Linked DNA regions of Homo sapiens: all the other regions are linked to region 1. The links are contacts of gene promoters, found by promoter capture Hi-C in blood cells and fetal thymus (Javierre and others, 2016). All regions are on one chromosome and are shown on one strand. Each heading gives the region's core, a stretch centred on a gene start or on the middle of the fragment in contact. The rest is flanking DNA. Distances are from core to core; before and after follow the strand shown.

Evidence for each region. Contacts are between HindIII fragments. The CHiCAGO score rates a contact against its expected background, and 5 or more counts as called.
Region 2: a contact is called between a fragment that was not itself captured here and the fragment with the promoter of MC5R in region 1, in 3 of 17 cell types (endothelial precursors, erythroblasts and naive B cells). The highest score is 6.4, in endothelial precursors.
Region 3: a fragment that was not itself captured here is called in contact with the fragment with the promoter of MC5R in region 1 in 6 of 17 cell types (erythroblasts, M0 macrophages, M2 macrophages and 3 more); the score reaches 14.9 in erythroblasts.
Region 4: a contact is called between a fragment that was not itself captured here and the fragment with the promoter of MC5R in region 1, in 2 of 17 cell types (endothelial precursors and erythroblasts). The highest score is 6.1, in endothelial precursors.

What each region holds. Positions count from the first base shown.
Region 1 is chr18:13,822,897-13,825,596 of GRCh38, forward strand. It overlaps MC5R (melanocortin 5 receptor), which reads left to right and starts at 1,253. Exons shown (of 2, transcript NM_005913.3): 1 at 1,253-1,378. RefSeq lists silencers at 922-1,102, 1,068-1,357, 1,368-1,457. The HindIII fragment of the contact is 16,860 bases long and covers 1-2,700 here.
Region 2 is chr18:13,555,362-13,558,061 of GRCh38, forward strand. All of the region lies in intron 4 of LDLRAD4 (low density lipoprotein receptor class A domain containing 4), which reads left to right. Among named protein-coding and RNA genes, the nearest start is that of MIR4526, 54 kb to the right of the region's middle. The HindIII fragment of the contact is 366 bases long and covers 1,237-1,602 here.
Region 3 is chr18:14,085,870-14,088,597 of GRCh38, forward strand. It overlaps a transcript of ZNF519 not described here. Among named protein-coding and RNA genes, the nearest start is that of ZNF519, 45 kb to the right of the region's middle. The HindIII fragment of the contact is 9,090 bases long and covers 1-2,728 here.
Region 4 is chr18:14,109,876-14,112,683 of GRCh38, forward strand. All of the region lies in intron 2 of ZNF519 (zinc finger protein 519), which reads right to left. Among named protein-coding and RNA genes, the nearest start is that of ZNF519, 21 kb to the right of the region's middle. The HindIII fragment of the contact is 2,012 bases long and covers 492-2,503 here.

The DNA.
Region 1 (2,700 bases), core at 3-2,502:
AAACAAAAAGTGCAACCAGCCAGAAAAACAACCAAGCAGCTACCCACCCAACCACCCATCCACCCACCCACTGACCCAACCAACCACTCCCCCACCCAACCACCTATCCATCCACCCACCGACCCAACCAACCAACCAACCAACCACCCACACAACCACCCATCCACCCAACCCACTGACCCAACCAACCAAACCAAGCAACCACCCACCCAACCACCCATCCACCCACCCACTGACCCAACCAACCTAGCAACCACTCACCCAACCACCCATCCATCCACCCACTGACCCAGCCAACCAACCAACCAACCAACCACCCTCCCAACCACCCATCCACCCACCCACTGACCCAACCAACCAACCAAGCAACCACCCACCCAACGACCCACCCACCCACCCACTGACCCAACCAACCAACCAAGCAACCACCCACCACCCACCCACCCACTGACCCAACCAACCAACCAAGCAACCACCCACCTACCCAACCAACCCCCACTTACCCAATCAACCAACCAAGCAACCATCCACTCACCCAACCAACCACCCACCCACCCAAGCAACCAATCAACGAACCAAGCAACCACCCACCTACCCAACCAACTACCCCCCACCCACCCAAGCAAGCGAGCAAGCGAGCAAGCAACCAAGTAACCATCTACTCACTCAACCAAGCAACCACCCACCTACCCAACCAACCAATCAACCAACCAAGCAACCACCCACCTACCCAACCAACCAATCAACCAACCAAGGAACCACCCACCTACCCAATCAACGAACCCCCCACCCAACCAGCCAAGCAACCAAGTAACCATCCACTCACCTAACCAATCAACCAATCAACCAATCAGGCAACCACCCACCTACCCAACTAACTAACCCGTAACCACCCAACCAACCAAGCAAGCAACCACCTGCTCACCCAACCAACCAATCACCAAACAAGCAACCACCCACCCACCCACTCAACCAACCAACTACCCAACCAAGCAACCACTCACCCAACCAACCATTCAACCGACCGACCGACCGACCGACCGACCCACCGACCCGACCGACCAACCAACCAACCAAGCAACCATCCAACCATTCAAGAGTGTGTTCGGGGGGATTTTCGCTCGGGGCTGACGCGGTTCTCTGGCCGCTGTGCCGTGCTGGGCCACTAGGTGGCAGCGGAGGCCGCCCGGAGCGACAGCCGGCGGTGCGGAGGCGGGCCCGGCGCGGGCAGGCAGGAGGCTTAAAGCCCCGCAGAGCCGCAGCCGCCTAGCTGGGGGAGAGGCCCGTCCGGGGCTGGCTCTGAGCGCCGCACGGCCGTCGGATCCCGGGGACGCCGGGGGCCCGGGCTGAGCGCCGCGGCCCGCGAGGAGGAGCACCGGTAAATAGCCACAACTTTCTATCTCCTTGAGATCCTGAGAATAAATGCAAAATCGCGCTTCCGCTGCATGTGGAAGTGAGCGGGGCGGCAGCTAGCTTGCCCCGTGAGTTTTTAACACAGCTCGATATGATGTTTAGTATAATTGCATAATTTACCGATATATCTGAGCTGGAACTCAGCTGTAACAAATGATTGTAGTTCAATAAATGCTTAGATTACCAATTTTTTCCTTTTTTATTTTTATAGATTTAGGGGGTACAGGTGCTGTTTTGTTATATGGATGTATTGCATAGTGGTGGAGACTGGGCTTTTAGTGTAGCCATCACCCCTATAGTGTACATTGTACCTATTAAGTAATTTGTTGTCCCTCACCCCCTCCCTCCCTCCCAAAGTGATTACAAATATTAATGATGACAGTGATGACAGAAATTCTCTCCAGATGTGATCTGAGTTTGGAGGGCAAAGGGATTTTTGAAAATGAATCATAAGAGAGAAATTTTGCAACAAAGGAGTGTGGTACATTTAAATTGCTGTTTTTTTTTTTAAATACTGTGCTCACGCGGACCTAATAAACTATCAAGCAGACCTCATGGAATTCCACATAATGCAGAAGCGAGGGAAAAATAGGTATTGAGGGAAAAGCAGCACTGTTTTCCTCAATTTTAACACGTATGTGCAGCCTACACTTACAAACTTAAGACAGTAGCTTTTAACATGTGACTTTGCTCAGGGTAACAGACCATTCTGGTTATAGCCTTACTTACAGCTGTGGAGGCTGAATCCTGATGGGTCTAAGAAGTGTCAGGACAAGTGTTAGGGATGCACCTGTCTGTCTGTCTTAAGGGAATACGGGTCTGGGCAGTCTTAAATCGGAGCTCCCTTGAGGAGAATGTCGTGCAGTAGCCTTAGGAATGTGAACATTGGGAGACTGGCTGGGATTTTGTAGGTTATGAGTTGGGGACACTTATGATAGTGAACTTGAGCCCAGGAGAGAAGCCATAAAAAGTGAAACTGTCCTGGGCACTTGGAGGTGAGTGTCTCTCTAGTAAGATGCATGTGAAAGGCTGGGAGCTGAAAGCAAGGAGAGCAGAAGAGGCTGGTGAAGATTCTAATCTGCGTGTCCAGGGGCACTCTTCCAGGTCTCAGGAACGCAGGTCAGAATGTGCAAGCCAGCTGCCGGGCACGTGGCTCACCCCTGTAGTACCAGCACTTTGGGAGGCTGAGAGAGAAGATCGCTTGTGGCCAGGAGTTTGAGACCAGACTGGGCAACATAGGGAGACCCTGTCTCTTAAAAAAAAAAAAAAAAAAGGACTGAGTGAGCC
Region 2 (2,700 bases), core at 170-2,669, 270 kb before region 1:
TCTGATTGCAAATAACACAGAAGTAAAATGAGTCACAGCCTACCTTCTCCCTCCTTCCCCTCATCTCTTACTCTTCTTTTTCTCTTTGTAGAAATGATTCAGCTGGTTTACTTTTGATTAAAGAGCTTATGTTCTCTTACCTATGGAATTCAATATTAGATAAATTGTTGATTTTCAGATCACTGTTTTCATTGTAAAATGGGCTAGAAAATGCAAACTATAAGTGTCTATTATTTGTTATTTAGCCCTATAAGGCATATAGCAGTTGCTACCCTAGGGTGCAAAGCAATGTGATCAGTTGGTTTTTGAGTTGAAAAATTACATGGTCTATCTCATTAAGTAAAGCCAGGTGTGTCTCAGAGAAACTCACTGTAATTAGTCAAAGACACAGAACTGCAGATGGAAAGAAGTTTATAAAGTATATAATAATTAAGGTATAGATGAGGAATAATTGGGACTTCTTGGATTATTACTTAGAGCTTGTTTGGGAGTTGTATTATTTTCTAAGAAGGCGGGAAAGCAGTTTGTGTGAATTATTCTTACCTTATTTTTAATAGCTTCATTGGTGTCTTCCTTGCAGCTTATTATAGAGAGAATGTGAATCTGTGGTAAGCATTAGATTTATTCTCCATCTAGCATGACCCAGATGGTAGTTTTGGAATGCATTCCTGCCCAAACTACTCGGAGTCACTGAGATTTATGATTTGTGAACTCATAAATTGGATAAATAAAACTCATCTTCTACAGCTTCAGTGTATGTTATTTTCTAGAGTTCATCGTGTCTGGAAACTTGATTTCAGTTAAGCTATGTATTAAGTACTTGGAATTTCTGAGTCTATTGCATTGTTGTTTCTAGGAGAGTGGGGAACTTTTTTTGGTGAACAGAGCTTACCTTCTTGTGACTGGTCATTGTCATTTCTACATGTTATCAGGAGGCCCTAGGGCCTTGCTGGAACAAGTACTTCTGAGTTGACAGAAATTGGATTGCTATAAACTCTGCTTTCAAGAGCCTTACCATCCAGTGAAGACACATGATTACCTGCAGTATATCTAAGTCTCTTTAATTGTGTGAAATTCATGGGTGAGGTTTAAGGTGGGTGCACAGGGAGAGTGAGGCTTGGTGCTTGGCTATGCCCGAATCCAGAGAGGCTTTTATAAAGAAAAATCATGAGCCCAGATCAAATAACCACATAGACCAAGGAGAGAGAAATAACTTCTGCCTTAGAGAACAAGGAAAGCTTCACAGAACAGGGAGTACTTAAGCCTGGTCTTTTGAGGATGATGTATTTGAGGGAAAGGGAGTGTCCATGGGTAAACAAAGACTTGCTAATGGGATACACGGGAATATGTTTGGAAAAGGCCATGATGGGGAGTGGTTGTCACTGGTTGTCCTTGTCCTTGTGCATCATATCAAGGGTATGTAGTTTAAACGTGATTTATAACTGCTGATGGTGACCTTGATCACCTGACTGAGGTGTATTAGGTTTCCTCACTGTCAAGTTGCTCTTTTCCCCCGTCTAAAGAGAACCACCCTTTAAAGGGTGATTAATGCTTTATAAAGGGTGATTAATAGATATTAGCAATGCATGGTGATGAAAACCAAGCTTGGACGTTACAGCACTTTCATCTGGCTTAAGGAGATAATAAGCACGGCCAGGCTCAGTGGCACACACCTGTAATCCCAACACTTTGGGATGCCAAGGCAGGAGGATCACTTGAGCCCAGGAGTTTGAGACCAGCCTAGCCAACACCGCAAACCCTATCTTTACAAAATTAAAAAAAAAAAATTAGTCAGGCATCATGGCACATGCCCATAGTCCTAGCTGCCCAGGAGGCTGAGCCAGGAGGATCACTTGAGCCCAGGAGTTCAAGCTTACAGTGAGCTATGATCACAACACTGTGCTCCAGCCTGGGTGACAGAGTGAGATCCTGTCTCAAAAGAAAATAAGCAAAAAACTAGACTTTGTCTTCACTTTGAACATGATCCTAACCTAAACTTGACCTTCTCAAACACTAGTGCCTAAGGATGGTTTCTTTAGACAAAGCCTTTTTTTTTTGAGATTGAGTCTCGCTCTTTCGCCCAAGCTGGGGCGCAGTGATGCGGTCTTGGCTCACTGCAAGCTCCGCCTCCCAGGTTCACGCCATTCTCCTGCCTCAGCCTCCCAAGTAGCTGGGACTACAGGCATGCGCTACCACACCCGGCTAATTTTTTATATTTTTAGTAGAGATGGGGTTTCACCGTGTTAGCCAGAATGGTCTCGATCTCCTGACCTCATGATCTGCCTACCTTGGCCTCCCAAAGTACTGTGATTACAGGCGTGAGCCACCACAGCCGGCCTAGACAAAGCTTTTTATAGGGAGACGAGAAATTGTTAAGAAGTGAGCTAAGAATTGTAAAACACTTAGTATGTGGCATTGTAATATATGTGTTATTGTCTGTTGTTACCATCATGATCATCACCATCATCACGTGCATTGAGTAGCTGAAGAACCTCGATACCAGACACCAGTATGTCCAAATTCTTGATGCCCAATCTCATTATTTTCACTTTGAATTTGAATTAGAAGTAAGTTGTTAAACAGGAACAAAATCTAATCATTTTTTCAAGGTACAAAAAAATTCCACATATTGAAATATAATGAATGGTTTTGCAAACTTTGATTGGCACTTTAAAAGGTGTTGGAGTAGGGCGCTCTGGG
Region 3 (2,728 bases), core at 171-2,670, 260 kb after region 1:
CTCATGTTCTGACCTGCACCACCTCTGGCCTTCGATAGTGGCATCAGGCCACGAGCAAACCTCAGCAGTAGTCAGGGCGTATCAGCATGGGCCTGGGACACACTCCAGGGTTGTGCTGGCCCCAGTTTCCATTGGCTTTGGCCCGATCCAGCTAAGCATGAGTCTTGGTGGCCAAGGGACTGCCCTCACCATCCCTCTCTAAACCCTGGGCAGCACAGTGCAAAGAGTGACTCCACCCACTGGAGGGAAGGAAAGGAAAGAAACTAAGCACAGGGCTTTGCCTGGCAATGCAGTGCTGGCATACCATCGTGAAACCCAACACTGGGGAAGACTCAGTGGCCCCTGACCCAGGCTGGTCCCTGTGGACAGAGCCACTGGACTTGTCACAGTGCCAGGTGGAGACCAGCAGCCCTGGTGGCACAGTCTCATGTCCCAGCCCACATCACCACTGACTCTCTGCAGCAGCCTAGAGCCATGAATAAATCTCAGGGGCCGGAAAGCTGTAGCCGTGGAACTTGAGGATCCCCCTGCGCTGCGCTGGCCTCAGTGGCTTTGGGCATGATGTAGCATCATAGCAGCTGTGGTGGCCACAGGACTCCCTGTCTCATCCATGCCCCACTACAAGCAGCACAGCATGGAGACTGCTTCAGGGAAGCAAAGGAAAGCAGGCACATGTGGCCTTGCAGCCCAGTGCTGAGCTCACTACAGAGATCCAGCCCTGGGCACAGCCCTGCAGTGCTTGACCCCAACCTGGGGACCGTAAACAGAACCCCTGGAGCTGTTCCGGCCCCAGGCAGAAACGTGCAAACCCAGTGGGATGAAATACACTCTGTAAGCCCCGCTCTAGTCCTTCCAGGCCAGAACGACAAAGCAACTTTGGATATGTGGCAAATCCAGGCTTAGAGCGCCCTCTAATGCTAAAAAAGCAGCAGTGACCACAGTTGAAAAATGTAATGAACCAAATAAAAAATACCAGCAGAATCAATCAATCAAACAGAAAAAAGAATCAATGAGCTCAAAGACAGGCTTTTTGAAAAGATATCAAATCAGACAAGGACATAACAACAACAACAAAATTACAGGACTATTTCCCTGAAGAATATAGATGCAAAAATCCTCACAAAATACTAGCCAACTAAATCCCATTGCACATCGTGAAGATTATTCACCAAGATCAAGTAGAATTCATCCCAGAAATATAAAGATGGTTCAACATATGCAAATCAATAAAGGTGATACATCAGATTAATGGAACGAAGGACAAAAACCATACGCTCATCTCATTAGATAAAAACTGTCAACAGATTGGGTATAGAAGAAATATACCTCAATATAATAAAGGCCATATATAACAGAACCATCATACTGAATGGGAAAAGCTGGATGTTTTCTCTCTAAGATCTGACACAAGATAAGGATGCTTATGTTTACCATTTTTATTCAATGTAGTACTGAAAGTCCTAGCCAGACCAATCAGGTAAGAAAAAGAAATAAAAGGCACAGCTGCATAGCTACTTTTGTGTTAATATATTATTTTTATTAGAAAATATATTTTGGTGAATGTGAAAATTTTATAAAAGTGAGCTCCTATCAGTGTACACTCTAAAAACCATGCTTCATTCCATCTTACCTGAACTGTAACCCACTGTTTATGGGACTTGGGTGACAAAATCCCAAGTCTTCAATATCAGCCAGATAACACAGGCAGAACTTCCTCAAATAAAACTCTTAGGAGCTACTGATGTTGCCATGATTAAAGGAGAAGAAAGGGATGGGTCATTTGTTTTCTCATTTGCAACATGATCATAAAAAATGTGTGCGTCCTTGTGTTGGATGTTTAAATCGTATCATTTATGTACATCACTTACTGATGTGCTTACATTTGAAAACATAAAAAGAGCATAGCTTGGTTTGTCATTATCATATAGGTCAACAATACCATCATTGTCATCACCATCATTATATTTTGTACATTAAAGTAAAAATGGACAAAAAGGATCTGGGAGGTGAGATTGACCATGCATTGTGTGAACAGATTATGGATGTGAGTACACTGGACAACATGCCCCACCTTGTAGCAAAATTCTGTCTGGAAAACAAGGAATGGAACTATGTAGAGAGAGCTGGCACACTCAGAGAAAGCAAGATCATCACCAATTAGATGTCAGTGCTATTTACAGAGATATTGAAACCTATGGACTCCAGGAGGATAGAGAAACTTCAGGAACATTTGGGTAATGGGTGGCTGCTATTACTTAACACCTATGTGACAATTATCCCGTTTTAGCAAATGGAAAGTACAGCTTAGGATGCTTGTTTGCCTCTAGCATGTTTATAGTATCAAGACATTTGAATCTTTTTTCAGGAAAATCAGAAGAGAAAGTCTTGTTCCAAAGTAAAGAATTAGAAAAACTCGGAGTAGCTTCATCACATATAAAAAGCTGCCTTGACTGCGAAACCCAAGCAGTCCTGCACCATAGTCAGTTCCCCTGATCAATAACAAAACAAGGGGAAAGTCTGGTTTTCTTGCTGAAGAGATTTCACTTTACCATCATATTCTTTGTAGCTTAGCAACAAGAAAATGTGATTTGTTCATATTTTATTGTTCATGGCTAAGTGCATATGATACAGGTTGAGAAAAAAATTAAAACCCAAGCACAGAGATCAGGACCACATAAGGTTCAAAATTCCTTAAATTTCATTCTAGTTAAAAATGAGTTCTGGCATA
Region 4 (2,808 bases), core at 248-2,747, 290 kb after region 1:
AATACTAACCAAAACAAAATAAATAAAAAATCTGGAGGCATCACATTACCCTACTTCAAATTATACTACAAAGCTATAGCTACCAAAACAGCATGGTATTGCTATTAAAATAGACACATAGACCAATGAAGCATAATAGAGAATCCAGAAATTAAGCCAAATACAGGCAACTCATCTTAACTAATAATCAACAAGGCATACAAATAAACAAATTGAGGAAACAACACCCTATTCAATAAACGGTGCTAGGAAAACTGGCAAGCCACACATAGAAGAATAAAACTGGATCCCCCATCTCTGACCGTATACAAAAATCAATTCAAGATGGATCAAAGATTTAAATCTAAGGCCTGAAAGCATACAAATTCTAAAAGGTAACATATAAAAAAACTCTTCTGGACATTGACTTAGGCAAAAAATTCATGACTAAGACCCCAAAAGCAAATGCAACAAAAACAAACATAAACAAATGGGACCTTATTAAACTAAAAAGCTTCTGCACAGCAAAAGAAATAATCAGCAGAGTACATAGACAACCCACAGAGTAGCAGAAAATATTTGCAAACTACGCACAAAAAGCTAGTATCCAGAATCTATACAGAACTCAAATAAATTAGCCAAATAATAATAATTCCATCAAAAAGTAGGCAGAGAAAATGAATATATATTTGTCAAAAGAAGACATACGAACACCGAACAATAATCTAAAAATGCTCAACATCACTAATCAGAGAAATACAAATGAAAACCACAATTAGATACCAACTTACTCCTACAAAAATAGCCATAATTCAAAAGTCAAGAAAACAACAGATGTTGGCATGGTTGTGGTGAAATGGGAACACTTAACAAATAAAATGTCATTTGCAGCAACTTGGATGGAGCTGAAGGCTATTATTCTAAGTGAAGTAACTCAGAAATGGAAAACTAGATATTGTATATTCTTATAAGTGAGAGCTAATCTACGAGGATGCAAAGGCATAAGAGTAATGTAATAGACTTTGGGGACTTGAGGGGGAAGGCTGGGAGGCGGGTGAGGGATAAAAGCTACATATTAAGTACAGTGTACACTGCTCGGGTGACAGGTGCACTAAAATCTCAGAAATTACACTAAAGAACTTATCTGTGTCACGAAAAACCACCTGTATTTCCAAAACCATTGAAAAAACCTAATGATGTATCTAGCAAACAAAGCCAAAATTAGAAGAAAAGAAATAATAAAGATCAAAGCAGAAATAAATGAATTTGAAATAAATAAAATACAAAAGGTCAATAAAATGCAAAGTTGTTTTCTAAAAAAAAAAAAAAAAAAACCTTTAGCCAGACTAAGAAAAAAAAAGAAAACTCAGCCAGGCACAGTGGCTCATGCCTGTAATCCCGGCACTTTAGGAGGCTAAGGCAGGGGGATCACCTGAAGTCAGGAGTTTAAGACCAGCCTGTCCAACATGGCGAAACCCCGTCTCTACTAAAAAATATAAAAATTAGCTGGGCACGGTGGCAGGCACCTGTAATCCCACCTACTTGGGAGGCTGAGGCAGGTAGAATTGCTGGAAGTCAGGAGAAGGAGGTTGCAGTGAGCCAAGATCAAGCCACTGCACCCCAGCCTGGGCGACAGAGTGAGACTCCTACTCAAAAAAAAGAAAAAAAAAAAAAAAGAAAGAAAGAAAAGAAAAAAGAAAAAAAGACTCAAATAAATAATAACAAAGATGAAAAAGGAGACATTTCAACTCTACAACTTATACTGCAGGAATTCAAGATCATTAGTGGCTGCTATGAGCAGATAGATGCCATAAATTGGAAAATCTAGAACAAATGGATAAATTTCTAGACACATAGAACCTAACAAGATTGAACTGTTAAGAAATCCAGAACCTGAATAGACAAACAAGACATGTTGAGATCCATAATAAAAAACCTCCTATGAGAGAAAAGCCTGAAATCTGATGGCTTCACTGAATTCGACCAAACATGTATAAAACTAATAGCAATCTGACTTAAACTATTCCAAAACAGAGGAGGAGGAAACACTTCCAACCTTGTTCTGTAAGGCAAGCATTACTCTCATACTAAAACCAGACAAACGCCTATCAAAAAAATCTATAGGCCAATATCAGCAATAGATGCAAAATTTCTAATAAAAATACTGGCAAGTAAAATTCAGCAACATATTAAAAAGATTATTATAGATGTAAAATTTCTAATAAAAATACTGGCAAGTAAAATTCAGCAACAGATTAAAAAGATTATTATACCTCATGATCAAGTAGGATTTATCTCAGGGATGCAAAGATACTTCAACATATGCAAATCAATTAATGTAATACATCATATCAACAAAAGAAAGAACAAAAACCAAGATCATTTTGATCCTGAAAATCATTTGATAAAATTTAATATCCCCTCATGACAGAAACCCTCAAAACTATAGAAGAAACATACCTCAACATATAAAAAGCTATATATGACACTCACATTATATGATACTAAATGGGGAAAAATGAAAAGCTTTTCCTAAGATTGAGAACATGACAAGGATGCACACTTTCACCACTGTTATTTCAACATATGGCAGCTAGAGCAATTAGACAAGAGAAAAAAATAAAGGGCAACCAAATTGGAAAGGAAGAAGTCAAATTAGCTTTGCTTGCAGATGATGTGCTCTTATATTTGGAAAATCCTAATTCACTAAAACACTATTAGAACTCATAAATTTAGTCAAGATATAGGATTAAAAAGCTAGCAGCATTTTTATATACCAACAGTGAACAATGTGAAAAAGAAATGAAGAGAGTAATCCCATTTACGATA